Linked DNA regions of Homo sapiens: all the other regions are linked to region 3. The links are contacts of gene promoters, found by promoter capture Hi-C in human tissues and cell types (Jung and others, 2019). All regions are on one chromosome and are shown on one strand. The core of a region is centred on a gene start or on the middle of the fragment in contact, and the rest is flanking DNA. Distances in the headings are between cores, read along the strand shown.

Evidence for each region. Contacts are between HindIII fragments. The study calls those that stand out against the background at their distance.
Region 1: a contact is called between a fragment that was not itself captured here and the fragment with the promoter of TPBG in region 3, in 1 of the 25 tissues and cell types used here (IMR-90 fibroblasts).
Region 2: a fragment that was not itself captured here is called in contact with the fragment with the promoter of TPBG in region 3 in 3 of the 25 tissues and cell types used here (neural progenitor cells, small bowel and thymus).

The regions. Positions count from the first base shown.
Region 1 is chr6:82,413,905-82,416,961 of GRCh38, reverse strand. It overlaps LOC124901352 (a long non-coding RNA gene), which reads right to left. Exons shown (of 2, transcript XR_007059664.1): 2 at 1,076-1,516. Among named protein-coding and RNA genes, the nearest start is that of TPBG, 52 kb to the right of the region's middle. The HindIII fragment of the contact is 4,556 bases long and covers 1-3,057 here.
Region 2 is chr6:82,320,408-82,323,442 of GRCh38, reverse strand. No RefSeq gene overlaps it. Among named protein-coding and RNA genes, the nearest start is that of TPBG, 42 kb to the left of the region's middle. The HindIII fragment of the contact is 4,411 bases long and covers 1-3,035 here.
Region 3 is chr6:82,362,280-82,365,218 of GRCh38, reverse strand. TPBG (trophoblast glycoprotein) reads right to left here and starts at 1,402. Exons shown (of 2, transcript NM_001376922.1): 1 at 1,311-1,402; 2 at 1-596. The coding sequence starts at 257. LOC105377875 (a long non-coding RNA gene) reads left to right here and starts at 1,562. Exons shown (of 3, transcript XR_942738.4): 1 at 1,562-1,607. RefSeq lists enhancers at 1-792, 944-1,455, 1,456-1,969. The HindIII fragment of the contact is 6,837 bases long and covers 398-2,939 here.

The DNA of each region.
Region 1 (3,057 bases), core at 484-2,983, 51 kb before region 3:
GAGCGTTCAGCCTGTTTCAAACTTTTTATTGCTATAAGTAAAACTACGATGAACATCTTTATTCATAAGGCTTCTATTTTTTCTGATTATTTCCTATACTGGATACCATGAAAAATTCTTGCAGGTCAAAGAGAATGATCAACTTAAGAGTGTATATTGCCAGTTTTTCCCCTAAAGAGTTACATCAAACAACACATTTGCCAGGAGCACATCCTTTTTGTTTCTATTATTGATTGAACCCTTAAAACCCAACCTTAGCAAGCTCCTGTCTAGAATCCTTATACAGGAAATTGGTTACACTCTCCTCACTGTCCAGGCTCACCTAACAAAGAAACTAGATGGAGAAAAAAAATAGAGGAAAAATAAAGGAGAAAAGTAAAAAGAGGAAGTAAAAGCAGAGAGAAAGGAGTGAGGGAGAAAGGCATGCAGGACGGCAGGAAGAATGGACTTTTATAAAGGAAACTGAATCTGCAAGTTTTCCCCACGAAGATAGAGTTTACACAAAGTAGTTCTTCTCAACCTTTTCTGCCAGTTCAGGACCAGGGATTTATTTGTCAAAAAAAGAGGTTTCAACTCCTCTTCTTCCTAAATAGCACTGTTCCCTCCTTAACCCTAAGCTTATAAAAACAAAAACACTTAAAATTAGCCCATTTTCTCCTTTTGCCAGGGTACATGAGTTTTCATTGCATCATCTCACTTGATTCTCCAGTTATTATGAGGTAGATATGATTACCCCAAGTCTACACATGAATAAACAAACTCAGAGAAGTTAAGCGGGTTCTCCTGTGTCCATCTGTAAATAGTAGGACCAGCTCTCCCATCCAGGTTTTGTAACTTTAATTTTACTCTGCTCCAAAATTTCTATGGCTTCCTGGTTTCTATTCACTTATCTGATTTCTCATGCTGGTATTGCCCTGGCATTCTTGGATTTTTGCCTGGGCTTTGTTTTTCTAGTCTGGGCTTCTTGTCTAGTTCCAACTGGTTCACATTGCTACTGCCTACTTCCCAACCTGCCAATTTGCCAACTTTGTATTATTGAAGAATGTGTTCATTTAAGAAAATTCCTTTCAGTATATTTTAGACAATGAAAAAACTTTATTAGAATTTCAAATATTTCCCCCTAAATGTAACCACTGGCTTCCTGTTCACTTATAGGTCTGACCTATTCCTCCACCAAGAGTTTCTAGTGTACCTACACCACCATGTTGGGTAAAGAAGAGTGGTTCTTCTTTGATGCCCTGTAAATTCTCCACACTGATCCAGTTGCTATACCATTGTAGAAAAAACTGCTAATTGCTTCCCGGATGTCCTGTTCTTCATGGACACATAGTTAGATTACATTTCCCATATAACTGAGTTCTGGCTGTTGGGATGTGAGTGAAAGTCATAAGTGCCACTTCCAGGCCTGGAAAAGTCTATTCTTCATATTTGTTTTCTTTTCACTGGCTTGAAGCAGACTTTTGAAGCCACATGTTGAAAATGACAGAGTCACAGATGAAAAGGATCTGAATTCCTGCTGAAAAGAGAGCCAGCCGTCAATGAGAAAAACCCATTTTAGACCTTATACAAGCAAGAAATTGCCCTCTTTTTTGTTTCATTATACATTTGGGGGTTTATATGTTTCACCAATTAGCCTACCCTAGCTAGCATAGCCATGAACATCTCTGTATAAGAATATTGCTAATTAAGGGGTGCCTCTTTGGTGTTGTGATTTGACTATAAAGCAGAATTAAATACACTCACACGTGAGAATTTTCAAAAAAGTTTGTGTATGTAAATGTGCATATTTGCGTGTGTGCATGTGTGTGCGTGGTTTTTAAAAACCAGTGCCATACAGTTCCTGGAAAGCTTTTAATCTATAAAGCAATGCCCTATATTTCTGCTTTGCCTTTTAAAAATGGCATGTAGGTTGCAGTGCACTTAACAGAATCTTATCCCAGGGTTGGAGGGGTGCAGAGTCTTGGAAGAGTAGAGTCTCATCACCCAATCCACAGAAGCACTTCTAGGGCAATCCCAACCACCTGCCAGAAAACCCACAGAGTCACCCACCAGGTAGGACGGCTAAGGAAGAATGGCCCCACAACCCCTCCCACTGCTGCTCCTCCAGCAGCAGAGTGTCATGAGCCTGACAAAGCATTCTTCAGGCTGCTGGAGATGTGATGAAGGATTAATCGAGAGGCTTTTGATGACTTATGAGATGTCTGTAGGACTTAGAAGAATGTGAGAAACACACAGTGACTTCCAGTGTCCACGTCCAGCAAACTAGAAGACTGGGCTGGGGGATGGGGTGGGGGCATTAACAGAAATAAAGAAGTTGGAAGGCAGAGGCGTTTGTTCTGAGAGGAAGACAATGTGTTCCACTTTGGTGCTGTTGATCTTGGGGCCAGCAGCCACTCCTGTTTCAGGCAGTCAGTAAGTGTCCTTTTCTCTCCTCTTTAGGCCATCCATCCTCTGTTATCTGTCCTTGGCCAAAATCCCTTATCTCTGCTTTTGATGAGTGTTTAGCACATCACTGAGTGATCCTGCATGCATTTCTAAGTATGGATACCCTTTTGGCGATGCTTTGCCAGTAACTGAAACTAAAAATAATAATAATAATAAAAAGCAAAGGAAAAGCAGCCAAGTATTATATATCCATATCTTATTTAATCCCATCCTCTTTAAAAAAATTTTTTTATAGATTCAATCAACTATCTGCCTGGTTCTTAGGCTGAAGCATAGTCTATACCATTTCTTCTATCATGCTTAGGCCGTGATACATTTTTGGGTTTATTTGTTTTATGAGTTAGCCTGCCTTATGTAGGACAATCATGAACATTTCTGCATAGCAACATTGATTAAAGAACAACTAACAGGTCTAAGTTGATAATTGAGATATTCACTAAAGTAATTGCATCATCATTTCAGCTGAGTTGTGGGCAGGAAAAAAACCCTCCTGATTCTAGATAAATAAAAAATTTCACTTAAAAAGTAATTTTTGTTTCTTAGGTTACAGCTCTAAATATTCTTGAAACATCTCAACTCTGAGCTTTTCTCCAGCAGCCTTTGCCTTGATCC
Region 2 (3,035 bases), core at 189-2,688, 42 kb after region 3:
GTGTTTGACCACATCAAGAGAAGTTTTATAGTTTTGGCAGAATGATAGGAATGAATTAGTTCTCAGTACATGGAAAACAAATCAAATGCAAATAAAATTACAGTCTCAGAGAAAAGAAATAGTTGTACAATAAATGAATGGTAATTATAGTACGATATATGCTTCAGTGTCAAGTAGTTATCTAGTCATATCGGTGAAAACATCAAACGTTTTATTACAACTATATTGGGTAGAGGGAGGAAAGAGACTTGTGTCCTTTCCCATTGTCTTTTTTTCTTTCCTTTTTTTCATATTATGGTTCACTTTCTGGAATTATATAATTCAGTTATTTAGTTATTTATGTTATTTAGTTATTTTACCTTCTCAAACCGCAATGTAAGTTCATAAGTACTGGGGACTTTGTTCTGTTCACGGGTATATCCCCAGTCTCTACAACATTTATTGCAGGAAGAGGCAGACTGTAGAGCTGAGCAAAATCTTCATCCTTTAGAGTAGAAAAGCAATAGGCAACATCCAATCCTTTAGAGTAGAAATCAATAGGCAATGTCCAATACTGAGAAATCTAGAAGTAGTGGTATAAACATATTAATTCAAATAATACCAGGAGAAAACAGCTAACCAAAATAGTTGAAAGAGATGTCCTCTGGGAAGCAGTAAGAATGTGAAGAGATGATTTAAGAGACAGCTGTAAGCTTTGTGATTTTTTTTTATTCTTAAATTATTTACATGTAGTACTTTGATAAACTTTGAAAAGGAAAAAAATAAATGGATACTATAAAATTATTCATAGCAAAACTGATAACACTTGACATTGAAAACATTTCACAATAGTGTTTCAGAATGACTGATTTCATAATATGCATAATGAATTGCATGAGATAAGAGATTACAGGAAAGAAAATCAGAAAGGAGACTTTGAGCTAATTCAGATGGTAGATGCTGAGGCCTTTAAGTGAATGGGTATCCCTGAAATTGGAGAAGTAGTGACATATTAGAATATATTTTGGTAGTTAAAAAAGTAACTAAAAAGATATCCGGGAAAGACTGCATATTCCATAACCATCACTAATAGGCATTCTCAAGTAATTTTTCAGGACTTTTGCAATAGTGAGTACAATTCTGTAATTTGAAACAAACACAAGTTAAAAGAAATCCAAGATTACTCTTATTTTTTGCAATATTCCTTTCAAAACACTTTTATAGTTTTAGTGTCCATCATGAGCAGTCTTGACAGTTTTTTGGTACACAGGGCAACTTTTGAAGCATGAGGTAGAATTGCAGTATCATGTCATAGTATTATCTTCAGTTCTACAGATTCAGAAGTCAACATTTTCTGATTTTAAAACCAGATTATACACTATATTCCTGATAAAGACCTCAAGCTATCTCTCAGCTCTTGGAAGTACCAAAACACCTTGCTTTTCTTCCTGTGGCATTTACCTTATTCTGCCTTGAATAATTTCTTTTTTTTTTTTTTTTGAGACAGAGTCTCACTCTATTGCTTAGGCTGGAGGGCAGTGGCACAATTTCAGCTCACTGCAACCTCCACCTGCTGGGTTCAAGTGACTCTCATACCTCAGCCTCCCAAGTAGCTGGGACCACAGGTGCATGCCACCAGGCCCGGCTAATTTTTGTATTTTTGGTGGAGACGAGATTTCATCATATGTGCCAGACTGGTCTTGAACTCCTGACCTCAAGTGATCCGCCTGCCTCAGTCTCCCAAAGTGCTGGGATTACAGGTGTGAGCCACCATGCCCAGCCTGCCTTGTATAATTTTTCATTGCTTTCATTCTTATGAATCAATAAGGCACTTTTAATAGGCATGAATACCACAAACATGTAGGTCCTCAATAAAGATTTGTTGAATTGAATTGACTATTCATATTTATGCATGCTTACAGAAATTTAATTATTCCCTTCTGGAGGAAAGGAGCTCAGTTTCCTCAATGAATAAAGAATTAAGGAAACTGAGCCCCTCTCCTCCAGAAGGGAATAACTCTTCCTTATTTAATACCTTAGATCAGTTGTTCTCGATCCTGGCTGCACATTATTAATACAATAACTGGAGACTTTTAAAACAAATTCTGATGCTCAAGTCAATAAAATATCTGGGTGTGTGAAGCTTCTATTTTTTAAATAAATTCTTCTCTTGATTTTAATATGCATCAGAGATTGAGAATTACTGTATTAGACCATCTACAACTTTGGTTCCAAACCTAGTTGGGTATCAGAATCACCTAAGATTTGTATATAAGGAATTGATGGGCTATCAGAGAGAGTATCATAATCGTTTATCTCTAGATATTTTCCCCTTCTCTGAGTATGTCTGTCTCCTTTGACTTGGTTTAATTTCTGCCTAGAATGAAGATTTTGAGGTTGGAACAAGTCAGCACCTATGAGCTGGTTTCAAGACCCTGGGGAAGCAAACTGAATAACATTACTGAAATGCTTTATGTAATGCTGTGCTTGCAAAAGTTGTACTGCTCTTTCACCAGAAATAGGTAATATTTTATGTTAAGTATTGTAATCATTTCCTCCTTATTTCACATTATAATATTCTTCATACTATTTTCACTGCAGATAAACATATCAGTTACTAAATAATAATTTCTTATTAATCATCCCACAATTATAAGCTCATACAAGTCTTTTAATAGTCTGTCAGATAGGTTGGAATATCACCTGCATTTTGCACCTGAGCAAACTGAAGTTAAAATTTGTTCAGAGCAGCTACACTAGACCTTCTGTCACCTGGTTGCAACATTAGTGTTTTTCTACTCCAATATGTTCACTGTCTTCTTTGTGAAGAAGTAGAAACTTATTTCTTTTTATAAAAAAAGTCGGATTTCAAGTTCTAAATATGCAATTTATTTTCTGATGAATATTTCCCTTTAAGAAACAGAACGTTTGGAATAGTGAATATTCTAAGCAATCAGTCCTGCGCAATTTGTATAATCATTTTATATGTTAGCCATGTTTGTATTTTTCCACATGAAAACAACTGTCATGTTTAAAATACATTTCATGTAAAACTG
Region 3 (2,939 bases), core at 153-2,652:
GGCACCTCGGTCAGATTGCGGTTAACGCACTTGACTGTGCGCGCTGCCTCGGAGCACTCGCACAGCGCGGGGCACTGGTCCGGCAGCGGGGGCTGGGCGGACACGGCGGAAGCCAGGAACGGCGCCGAGGAGGAGAAGGAGGATGCCGAGGAGGTGGGAGAAGACGAGGAGACCCAGCCCAGGAGTACCAGCGCTAGTCGCGCCAGCCGCAGACGCCCGTCCCCGGCGGCGGGGCCCCGGGAGCACCCCCCAGGCATCGCGGCTCGCGTTTCCCCGGAGCTGGGCTGGGACGGCGCCCGCTCCGAAGGCTCGGGAGGCTGGGCCCGGAGGGCGCGAGCCGGCGGAAGCGTCTGGAAAAAAAAAACTTTCCTCTCGTGGAACCGAGGGAGTGGCGCCGCAGCCGGAACTTGGCTAACCCCCTCGCCACCGGGCGCTTCCCTCAGGGGCCGATTCCCCCGCCCCTTCCCTCCAGAAAGTACGCACGGCGGGTCGGGACGCTCCGCTCCGCGCTCCTGCTCCCGCTCCTCTTCCTGCCGCCGCCCTGGTGCCACCTCTTCGCCTCTTGTTGGCGCCCCTCGCTGGATCCTCTGAGGGACCTGGGACAAGCAGGAGAGAGGCGTGAACAGCGGTGGCTGCCGCGGCTTCCGGAGTGCAAAAACCGGCCTTTTCGAGTCTAGTCGTCTCCAGTCTGTCCCAGAGACCTCCTTCCAAAAGCCCGCCCCGGCCTCGCCTCCCCAACCCCTCCGGTCACTTTTACTCCGGAGGGGGACGCGCATCCGACACCCAGACCGCAAAGTCTTCCTTCTTCCCTGGCCCACACTAAATAAACCCGACCGGCCTCCCGCCCTCCGCCTTTCCCGAGGAGACTCGTCTCCCGCGTCTAACTTACCGCTTAATCCCCAATTCCTTCCCTACCAAACTTCTCCCTCTCCCGTTCCTTCCTGCACCGCCTCGGCGGAAGGTCGGCCTCCGGGTGTCTCCGCCCCCGCCCAGACCTCTCCACCAGGTCCCGGTTAGGATGCGAGGGAAGTTTCAGGTTACAGGACTTTTTGATCTCTTTTTGTACCTTCTCGCATTAGCAGGAAGTGGAGCTACAACTGTCGCCCCCCAGCCCGCGCCCCGCCAGCCCCTCGGATCTCAAAGGGGTTCAAGTCATCTCCAAAGAGGAGGGGAGAGTCTGGGAACAAAGCAGCAGTGGGACTCGGGGTACAGTGGCAACCCGAACCAACCCTACTCTCCACCCGAGGATGGGGAGGGGCCCCAACGACGCCTCCCGGGTCTCTCCCAGGCCGCGGGCTCCCACTGCTCACCTCCGCGTCCGCCGCCTCCAGAACCAACTCTGAGTTCCACCAGAGTAGCGACGACTTCCCGGCTCCGCGTTGCGGGCGCCGACTCTCTTCGCACCCCAGCCCCTGGCCCAACCTCCCAACCTCCGCAGCTGGGAAAAACCAACCCGGGGGGCGGGGGAGGGCCAGGACTGTCGGGGAGATTCCCGACGCGCGGCCAACCTCGGCAGCCGTAGGTAGGGGGATTTAAGAAGAGAGACTAGGGGAGCTGGGCTGCGCGCCTCCTCCTGGTGGAAATTAACGAGGAATGTGCCGGAAAAGGTGAGGGAATCCCTTTCTCTCCCCCCTCCCCGACATCCTTGGGTGGTTCCTCATTTTGCATACTGTATTTACCTTGGACTGGAGCAAAACCGCTGGTGAATCTCGTGGAATTCACCCTGATTCAGGCACCTTTGGCAGTGACGAGATAGATTTAGGCATGACAGAGCAGCGCGAAGCAGCAGCAGAAAGAAATGAGCTGAAAATCTACTGCGGCAGCAGCAAAGGCACGGCAGGTTGTATGGAAGCTTCAGAAGCTCTCCCCATCAAAGTGGTACTTGAGGCCGCAAACTTCAGATTTAGGTGTAATTAATGCCTTCCCGCCTGTCCCCCCCGCCCCCTCACTTCTTGGGTAGTGATGGAACTTGTGAAGAGAGCGCGCCAACTTTAAGAGAGAGAGAGAGAGAAAGAAAAAAAAAAGATTAGTGGAGAGGAGATTCATTCCTGATTCATTAGCTTTTCTCTTACCAAAATTAAAAGCAGATGGAAGAGAAAGGCAGCCAAAGGCATCCCAGAAACAAAAGGCAAATAGCAAAGACTTGAGTCTCCCGGAAAGCGGACCCGCCCCCCTCCCCAGATGTAGCGCGGTGTGTCAAGTCACTTCTGTGGAGAAAGCTCCAAGGATGAGGAGTGGGGATTGCAGGAGCTGACCTGGGAGAGAAGTTTGGTTTCAAAGTCGATTGTCCCAGGGGGCATCTGGCAGATGGTGATGGAGAGGATGGGGTTGGGGAGAGGGACAAATTGAATGGTTGGTTACCGGAAGGATCTGTTATTATACCAGACAGGTTTTGGGTTCTGAAAGCCCTATCGTTGCTCTCTGTAACTCCACATCCCCTTTGTCCCAATTAAATAATTTCCCCGAAGGGATAAGAAGGTTCTTCCAGGCTTCTTCATTTTAGAGAGAAAATGGCAATTAGGGAAAACATGGTTCGGAAATTTAAGACCTGGTCGTATTAAAAAAGATCAAATAAGGATCCTGAGGCTTGTGCCTGGGACATGTGCCTTTAGTGTGAAGAAAGACCCCAACTCTCCAACGGACGCCTGATTACTTTTATAGAAAGAGATAGTCTGCAAAGCCGACAGCAAAAATGGCTCAGACAAAAGCTGAAAACACTGGAAACTGCAGAGATTTGTGCACAAAAGCTGGTTTCATTAATTTGCATCTTCAGCACGTTTATCTACATCTCTTTTCTTATTTTTAAAAGTGTTTTGCAACATGAATGTAAAACACTTTGAAAAAGAATCTCTAAAGCTGTAGTCATGTTCTGTATCCGGATTGTGGTGGTGGTTACATAAACCTATACAACGTGTTATAACTCATAGAACTTTGTAAAC